Linked DNA regions of Homo sapiens: region 2 is linked to region 1. The links are contacts of gene promoters, found by promoter capture Hi-C in human tissues and cell types (Jung and others, 2019). All regions are on one chromosome and are shown on one strand. Each heading gives the region's core, a stretch centred on a gene start or on the middle of the fragment in contact. The rest is flanking DNA. Distances are from core to core; before and after follow the strand shown. Region 1 holds the start of PXMP4 (peroxisomal membrane protein 4). Region 2 overlaps RALY (RALY heterogeneous nuclear ribonucleoprotein).

Evidence for each region. Contacts are between HindIII fragments. The study calls those that stand out against the background at their distance.
Region 2: a contact is called between a fragment that was not itself captured here and the fragment with the promoter of PXMP4 in region 1, in 1 of the 25 tissues and cell types used here (H1 embryonic stem cells).

What each region holds. Positions count from the first base shown.
Region 1 is chr20:33,716,657-33,721,680 of GRCh38, reverse strand. PXMP4 (peroxisomal membrane protein 4) reads left to right here and starts at 1,371. Exons shown (of 4, transcript NM_007238.5): 1 at 1,371-1,586. The coding sequence starts at 1,474. RefSeq lists an enhancer at 1,775-1,824. The HindIII fragment of the contact is 6,661 bases long and covers 1-1,625 here.
Region 2 is chr20:34,002,194-34,006,970 of GRCh38, reverse strand. The region is part of intron 1 of RALY (RALY heterogeneous nuclear ribonucleoprotein); the gene reads right to left. Among named protein-coding and RNA genes, the nearest start is that of RALY-AS1, 10 kb to the right of the region's middle. The HindIII fragment of the contact is 6,853 bases long and covers 1-4,777 here.

The sequences.
Region 1 (5,024 bases), core at 122-2,621:
AAAAAAAAAACACATAAGAACCAGGGTGGCCGGGCACGATGGCTCACATTTGTAATTCCAGCACTTTGGGAGGCCGAGGCGGGCGGATCACAAGGTCGGGAGTTTGGACTAGCCTGGCCAATATGGTGAAACCCCGTCTTTACTAAAAATACAAAAATTAGCCGGGCGTGGTGGCATGCACCTGTAGTCCTAGCTCCTCAGGAGGCTGAGGCAGAAGAATCCCTTGAACCTGGGAGGCAGAAGTTGAAGTGAGCTGAGATCACACTACTGCGCTCCAGCCTGGGTGATAGATCCGAGACTCAGTCTAAAAAAAAAAAAAAAAAAAAAAGAGCCAGGGTAATGAGTCAGAGTGGACAGTGCTACTTCAAATTGGATGTCTCAGAAAGTCTCTCTGATGAAGTGGCATTTGAGCTGAAACCTGAAGGATGAGAAGAAGCCCATCATGGGAAGAGCCCAGGATGGCGAATATCAAGCAGGGAACCAGCAAGTGCAAAGGCCCTGAGGTAGAAGGGTTCTTGGCCCAAGGAACAGAAAGGAGGCTGTTTGGCTGGGAAGCAGTGAGGTGGCAAGTGCTGGAACGTGGGGTCAGAGGGAGAGGCACGGACCAGATCACAGGAGGTCTTCTCTCTTGGGCCTTGGGGAGGAGTTTGGATTCTAAGAATAAGTGGACGCCGGCTGGGTTCACGCCTGTAATCCCAGCACTTTGGAAGGCCGAGGCAGGTGGATCACCTGAGGTCAGGAGAGCAGCCTGGCCAACATGGTGAAACCCCGTCTCTACTAAAAATACAAAAAAATTTGCCAGGCATGGTGGTGGGTGCCTGTAGTCCCAGCTACTCAGGAGGCTGAGGCAGGAGAACTGCTTGAACCCTGGGGGGTGGAGGTTGCAGTGAGCCGAGATCGCGCCACTGCACTCCAGCCTGGGTGACAGAGCGAGGCTGCATCTCAAAACATACATACGTACATGGAAGCCATTGAGGGGCCATGTGACTGACACTCTGGGAAGATCGCTATGGTAAAGGATATCCCAGTCAGAACTATCTCGCATAAAGATGGGGCCCTGCTCCTCCCTGTATCATCACCTGTCGCCCATCCCATCTCTAAGCAGGGCCACTCCTCATTCAGGAGCCCTCCTTCCAAGTACACGCCTCCTTCCAAACCCACTCGTGAACCCAACATGGCCCAAGGGAAAGTGCCTTCTGATTGGACAAATCGTGTGTGACCTTGGGCGGAGCCCACTGTGATTGGCTACAAGCTTTCCTTTCTCTTCCAGTCAGACAACTATTTCGATGAGTGCTATTGTCCCATGAGACAAGTACGCTCTCTGATTGGTCTTCCATGCATGAGTGACGCAGAAACAGCCTATAGACGCCACGAGTCGGCGGCGCTACCGAGGGGCTGTGGGCGCGCAGCTGGAACCTCCGGCTGTCAGTGCGCTTACAGTTCCTAACCCCGACCCTGCGCGCAGCCCGCACTATGGCAGCCCCGCCGCAGCTAAGGGCTCTGCTCGTAGTCGTCAACGCACTGCTGCGCAAGCGCCGCTACCACGCTGCGTTGGCCGTGCTTAAGGGCTTCCGGAACGGGGCTGTGTGAGTGGGGCCGTCGGGCCGGGCTGGGGCTGAGGGATGTCCTGCCTGGGGTCAGAGGCGCGAGTTCGAAGTCCGATGCCGCGGTGCTGTTTGCCCTGGAGCAGTCCTCGTGTGTCTCTAAGTCTCGGAGGTCACCATCTGTGCAATGGGAGCTGGATTTTGGCTTGCGCGCCTTCCCAGCTCTGAACTGGGGCTCCCACTGCACATTTTCTGGGTCTTCCAACCTTTGCAGCCTGGCCCTCTTGCTTTGACTCCTCCCATGCCAGCTTCTGTATCCCCTCATTTGGGTTCAGTTCACCTCACCTCTCTGTGTGCCTTTGGGCCTCAACGGCCCCATCTGCACAATGGGGAACTGGACTCTGGCCTCTAGCTGGCAGGCGGATGCCTCCTGTCTATTCTGTCCCCATGAAGCTTGCCCATGGGCTTGCATCCTGCTTCTCACTTCTCACCTGTAGGACTCCAGCGCTAAGTCCCGTTCGGCTCAGGGGGCTCCTGGGACGTGACAATGAATGTAAAAGAAGCTGCAACTATCCTGGCATCTTACCTGCAAGAGAGGTCTTGGGGTCATTGCCCTGGCTGGTGCCTAGAGGGGAGCTCAGTCTCCTTTAAACCTAGTGCATAACAGCCACCATTTATTGAGGGCCTACAGTGCCAGAACCGGGGACAAAGCAGAGAACAAACCAGAGAAAGTGGTTTGTGTCCCCCAGAATTGGCATCCTAGTGGCAACGTGGGATGGTGGGAAGGATGTGGATGCCTTGGCTTGAACCCTGGCCCCACCTACCCGTGTGATCTGGAGGAAGTCATTTAGCCTCTCTAAGCCTCAATATCTGTAAAATGGGCATGGTACTAGTACTTATACTATCAGGATTGAGTCAATATGTGTGAAATGCTTAGCACAGGCTGGCCACGGTGGCTCACACCTGTAATCCTAGCACTTTGGGAGGCCGAGGCAGGCGGATTATCTGAGGTCAGGAGTTCGAGACTAGCCTGGCCAACATGGCAAAACCCCGTTTCTACCAAAAATACAAAAATTAGCCGGGTGTAGTGTCACATGCCTGTAGTCCCGGCTACATGGGAGGCTGAGGCAGGAGAACCGCTTGAACCCAGGAGGTGGAGGTTGCAGTGAGCTGAGATTGTGCCACTGCACTCCAGCCTGGGTGACAGAGTGAAACTCCATCTCAAAAGGAAAAAAAAGAAAGTTTCATGAGGCCATAACTTTATCTATTTTGTTCCTTGGTGTATTACTAGCACCTGGTATTTAGTAGTTTCTGAAATATTTATTGAATGAATGAATAAGTGTGCAAGATCAGAATTGCCATTGTCCCCATTTTCCAGATGAAAAGGCTGTAGCTCAGAGGTAGACCCATTGCTCGTGGCCACAGCACTTGGTCACGGTTGGAGCCGGGATTCAAACCCAAGGATGCCTGGCACCAGTGCCAGGCTCTTGGCTCCCATGGACACTCAAGAGTCAGGTAGAACTGGTTCCCACTGGGTCTGGCCAAGGGCATATCCTTGATGTGCCCTGAGATAACATCAGTAACCCTTTTGCCAAGTTTTTTTTTTTTTTTTTTTTTTTTTTTTTTGAGATGGAGTGTCGCTCTGTTGCCCAGGCTGGAGTGCAGTGGCGCAATCTCGGCTCACTGCAAGCTCCGTCTCCCAGGTTCACACCATTCTCCTGCCTCAGCCTCCTGAGTAGCTGGGACTACAGGCACCCACCACCACGCCCGGCTAATTTTTTTGTATTTTTAGTAGAGACAGGGTTTCACCGTGTTAGCCAGGATGGGCTCGATCTCCTGACCTCGTGATCGGCCTGTCTCGGCCTCCCATTGTGCTGGGATTACAGGCGTGAGCCACCACACCCAGCCTTGGACACAGGTTTGATTCCAGTCTTTTGTTTTTTCAAACAAGCCTGCAGTGAACATTCATGTATATTTGGGGAGACAATAGTATGTGGCTCATGACCATTGTCTCAAGGAGGCTGTCAGGATTTTTAGACCTTGTAGCCTGGTAAGACCAGGGTTGGGTACCTGGAGAACTTAGGGATAGGGGTAGGGGTGGAGGTGTCCAATAAAGAAGAGTAAGAAAAGAAGAGACACTAATATTGATTGACCTAGGAACTTTTATATGTGCGTAACTGCCAAAAGCCATTCTGTAAAATGGAGAATACCTTTTGTTGATGGGAAAAGGGAGGTTCAGAGAGGTTAACTAATTTATCCAAGCTCACATAGCAAAACATGGCAGGGCTTTGGCCCAAATACCACTGTCTTTCTACTATTCATCTGAGTATAGTTAAAACAATGAAAGTAAACATGGTCTTGTTCACGTCATTCCTAGATCCCTAAATGAGGAGGGGAAAGGAAGGGTGGGGGAAGAGGTTTGAATCTTAAAAAGAGGCAATTATGTAACAATTATGTAACATTTAAAATATTTAATAATTTTTTTTTTTTTTTTTTTGAGACGGAGTCTCGCTCTGTCGCCCAGGCTGGAGTGCAGTGGCGCGATCTCGGCTCACTGCAAGCTCCGCCTCCCGGGTTCACGCCATTCTCCTGCCTCAGCCTCCCAAGTAGCTGGGACTACAGGCGCCCGCCACTACGCCCGGCTAATTTTTTGTATTTTTAGTAGAGACGGGGTTTCACCGTTTTAGCCGGGATGGTCTCAATCTCCTGACCTCGTGATCCGCCCGCCTCGGCCTCCCAAAGTGCTGGGATTACAGGCGTGAGCCACCGCGCCCGGCCTAAAATATTTAATAATTTTAAAAGCAGTACTTAATCATAGATAATTCTGGAAGTCTAGAAAAGTTTAAAAAGCAAGCAAAAATAAATTATATCTATTATATATTCCTCCAGTGCAGTGGGCATTGCTAATAACAGTGGCATATTTCCTTCCAGTTTTTTATTTTATTTTATTTTTGTTTTTGAGACAGAGTCTTAGTCTGCTGCCCAGGCTGGAGTACAGTGGCACGATCTTAACTCGCTGCAGCCTCTGCCTCCTGGGTTCAAGAGATTCTCCTGCCTCAGCCTCCCGAGTAGCTGGGATTACAGGTGCCTGCCACCACACCCAGCTAATTTTTGTAGTATTTTTAGTAGAGACAGGGTTTCACCATGTTGTCCAGGTTGGTCTCAAACTCCTGACCTCAAATGATCTGCCCACTTCAGCTTCCCAAAGTGCCAGCCTTTTTATAAATGCATTTTTACAAAGTTGAGGTCCTTCTTTGTATAATAGTTAGAAAGAGGTACATTTTGAATAGGTACAGTGTTACCTAACAGCTGTTTTAGGGAATCTGTTAACTTTAAGATGAGCTAAGCTGAAGACAGAACCTTCTAGAAATGACATTGTCATGGGTAAGGGGTGTTCTGGCATCGGTCAGTCAACAGTTATTTATCAAGCACATGTTATATGTCAGGTACCATGTGGGGTACTATGCTAGGGACTATGCA
Region 2 (4,777 bases), core at 759-3,258, 280 kb before region 1:
CAAAATCCAGAACATGGAAAAATCTATAGAAAAAAACATCCAGCTTCTTCAACAAATAATGGGGGGGATAACTACACTCATGCATCACTTAGCAACGGGGATACATTCTGAGAAATGCATCATTAGGCGATTTCATCCCTGTGCAAACACCAGTGTGCACTTACACAGTCCTGGGTGGTATAGCCTACTACACACCTAGACTATATAGCATAGGCTGTATAGTTGCTCCTAGGCTACAAACCTATACAGCATGTTACTGTGTTGAATACTGTAGGCAACTGTAACATAATGATAAGGATTTGTGCACCTAAATATACAATGGGTACAGTAAAAAAAAAATGGTATTACAATCATATTAGACCACTGTCATATCTGTGGCCCATCACTGGCTGAAACATCTCTATGCAGCATGTGACTGTAGGAGGGACCATACAAATTAAACGAGACTTGAAGACTTAAGAACCATGTGTGGACTTTATATGAATCCTGAATCAAACTATCAAAATAAGGTTGTGACATTTACAAAACAATCGAACATTTGAACACGATCATCTGGATTTTGATTTTACTGAGGAACTGTTACACTTTATAAAGATGGTAATGGCATTATAATTGTTTTTAGAAGTCATCTTTTAGAGACACACTGTGAAATATTTAAGGACAAAATATGATAGCTGAGATTTTCTTCAAAGCACAAAATGAAGAAAAGTAGGTAGGGGTATAAATGAAACAAGACTGACAATGAATTGCTAACTGTTGAAGCCAAGTGATGGGTAAATCATATTTCATTAACCTATTCGATTTTGTGTATGTTTGAAATTTTCCATATTAAAAATAAAGAGGAATTGGTTAGGTTTCAATCCTAGCCAACTCCATCTATCATATCAGCAGCGTGACCACGGCATATCTTTCTTTTGTTTGTTTATAGCATCTTTATTCATAATTGACAAAATTTGGAAGCAACCAATGACACCTTCAATAGGTGGATAAACTGTGGCACATCCAGACAATGAAATATTATTCAGCATTAAACAGAAATGAGCTATCAAAACATAAAAAGACATGGAAGAAACTTAAATGGATATTACTAAGTGAAAGAGGCAAATCTGAAAAGGCTACATACTGTATGATTCCAACTGTATGACGTTCTGCAAAGACGTATCTGTGAAGACTATAAAAAGACCAGTGGTTGCCCACGGCATATCTCTTAACCTCCCTTTGTCTCAGTTTCCAATCTGTATGATCACGATCAATACAACCTACTTCTTAGGGTTGAGGTGAGAATGAAATAATATTTTATATGTATAAAAGGCTTCGCACATAGTAACCTTCAGTAAATATTAGCTCTATTAGTATAAACAAAAGGTACCAAGTATGATATCTCAACACAGTGGACACTCAATATCACTAATATGCAAGGCTGTGTTAACATTTAAAACCCAGGTCAGATTTTTTTTTTTTTTGAGAAAGAGTCTCACTCTGTCACCAGGCTGGAGCGCAGTGGCACGATCTTGGCTCATTACAACCTCCAACTCCCTGGTTCAAGTGATTCTCCTGCTTCAGCCTCCCCAGTAGCTGGGATTACAGGCACGCGCCACCACGCCCAGCTAATTTTGCTATTTTTAGTAGAGACGGGGTTTCACTACTCCGTCAGGATGGTCTCGATCTCCTGACCTCATGATCTGCCTGCCTCAGCCTCCCAAAGTGTCAGGATTACAGGCCATGAGCCACTGCACCCAGCCCATCAGATTTTTAAATCAACTACTCGACTAGTCTCCTCGAGAGGGGGCCTAGAAATTCTCTAGTGAATGTCCCTAGTGGCATCTCTAGCACCCTGTCTATCTTGACAAACACCCCGCGACCTGACACAGGATCAGAAGCTGACTAATGTTTAACATGAAAATGCTGCTCTCTGGAAGGAGGCAGGGCCACCCTATTTTCCCCAACCAGGTAATTTAAGGTACATTTTCTAATATTTGCTGACAGAACAAAGAGGAAAGGCTCTAAGACATGATCAATGTTCATGCCAACCTTCAAAGTGATTTGGTAAAACTACACAAAATAAACACCCAGCTAGGGTCCACCGGCAGGATAAAAGCTGACAAAGAAATGGCAATTTTTCCCTGAGCAAATATACAACTAATAGATGAGCTCTGAGAGACTAAGTTCTTTAGGTTTTAGTATTCCCTCCCCAACCATTTTAAGAAGAAAAACTCTCTTTTGATATACTTCAGGTATGACTGTTTACTGGATTAATTTCTTTCTTGAAATGATGTAAGTATAAGCAAAGAGCTCATTCTCATCCTTTTATCCAGTTTAAATACAAATTGGCTTCATAACGACATGACCTTGTTCTGCTCTGAGAGGCTATGAGAAGGTATCACCCATCTCCAAAGTGTGGGACACTTCCACCACCTGCTCATTAGCAGGAATATGGATACTACTCGGTCTAGTCATTCATCTGTGCCTCTACTCAAGTTGTTCCCATTGCACAGAATGTTCTCCATCTCTGCAGCCTAATCACCTGTGACCATTCTTTCTGGAAAAGGGGGGAAGGGAAGCACATCGGTTGAGAAAAGATAACTGGGTGTTGCTTCTGCATAGTATGGGAGATAAGGTACAGACATGGCAATATTGATTGGTATTTCATAATCTGTAAGTACAACCAGACAGAATATTAGAAATTAAAATGGTCCTGGACAACAGATGGTCATTATCCTTATCCTACAAAGTCCAGCACAAATACTCACTGGTCCACAAATGTTCCTTGGGAACTCCCCCTCTGCCCCTCCTCCATGTACAAAGGAAGCAATCTCTTCCCCTTCTGAACTTCCCAATCATTGTACCCCTTTATGGTACTTGCTATGTGAGAATTCATAGTATGGTTCTTAAAATTCATATCTATAACTACTAACCAGAATGGCTTCAAATGAAAAAGATAGACAATGCCAAGTATTTACAACAACACAGAACAACAGCAATTTTCTCATCACTAACCATGTAACCTGGTAGACCTTTTAAAACTGTTTGGAGGCCGGGCACGGTGGCTCACGCCTGTAATCCCAGCACTTTGGGAGGCGGAGGCGGGCGGATCACGAGGTCAGGAGATCGAGACCATCCCGGCTAAAACGGTGAAACCCTGTCTCTACTAAAAATACAAAAAATTAGCCAGGCGTAGTGGCGGGCGCCTGTAGTCCCAGCTACTTGGGAGGCTGAGGCAGGAGAATGGCGTGAACCCGGGAGGCGGAGCTTGCAGTGAGCCGAGATCCCGCCACTGCACTCCAGCCTGGGCGACAGAGCGAGACTCCGTCTCAAAAAAAAAAAAAAAAAAAAAAACTGTTTGGCATATTTACCAAAGGTAAACATATGCCTAACCTAGGACTTACAGTATGAGGTTAGAGAACACTTACTCACTGTTCCCGCTGAACAGTTCACCTCCAGTCTTTTGCTCCATCATTGCCCCTGTCCAGATGCTTTCATCACACTTTTTCCCAATCCCAGAGACCAGCTGAGATCACTCTCCCTGCTCCCTACAAAGAGATCGATCTCCCCTCTTAAGGAAAATTCTGCCACTTACCTATTACCACTGACAAATGACTGATGGATTCTTCACATATAAATTGTCTCATGTGATTTTACAACGTTCTAATTTGCTCCTCACAATACCATTGTGAGGAAGGCAAGATATGGAGTGTTAACCCCACTTCACAGATGAGAAAATGGAACTTCAAAGAGAGAGAAGATGACATCTCCAGTTTACATGGCCTTATTATTCCAGACCCCACAGGCAATGCTAAATTGTTGGAAGAAATCGGGAGCACAACACAGCATCCCAAGTAATATTTCTCTCTGAAGGGTAGGAAAGAGGGAAGAGCCCTTCAAAACCAGGAGAGCCTCAATGTGCCCACCATTTCCATTTACTAGGGCTCCTTGCTGCAAAGTGTTCAAAGGCGGCTGGCAGTGGCAATGGGCTTCACGAACTACAATATAAACACAATTATCAAATCACAGACTGATCAAATGCCAGAAACCACACCTCAGATAATTCCACCTGCATACAAAATAGAGCTATTTTATTTCAAAATAGAGCATAATAAAACTTAAAATAATTCAACATGAAACTTAATTTTCTTCATTTCTACATAAGAAGCGAGACAATACCAAATCTTCCTGAAGCCAGCCAGAGAACTGTGTGGGTGTCCAGATGCAGATATCTGGACACCTAAACCTGAAAGGAAATGTTGTCCCCTACTCTAATATTCTTGACTTTACACACTGGGTGTTGGACACCTTAGCAACAGAGGATAAATATCTGTAAAAAACAGAAGGGAGAGAAGGGAATGCCAAAAAAATAAAGTCTACACACTGGAAGTCAGATTATCAAACTGGTCTCCTTGTCTACTGATACAGCCACCAATTATGTTATTTTCCGTTTGAACCCTCAATCCAAATATATGAGCCAGGGCGGCAGGCTGGATTTGCTTTACTTATCTGTCTTCCTCTCAAGACTGAAAGTAATTTGTGGACAGGAATTATGTCTTGTTGGTTTTTATGTTTTCCATAAGAAGAACATATAGGAGGTACTCCAAATTCCTGGAACGAATGGTTGAGATTAGGGATGGAAGGCTGTTGGGACTCCCAAGCATAAATAATCATGCCACGGCAACTAAGTAACTTCCTCTGAACCCTAATTTTAGTAAGGGTTGATTTTAATTGGTGTAAGAATCAATTAGGGTGAATCTTTAAAGTCTGAAGAGAAGTTATTCTTGTGCTCAAC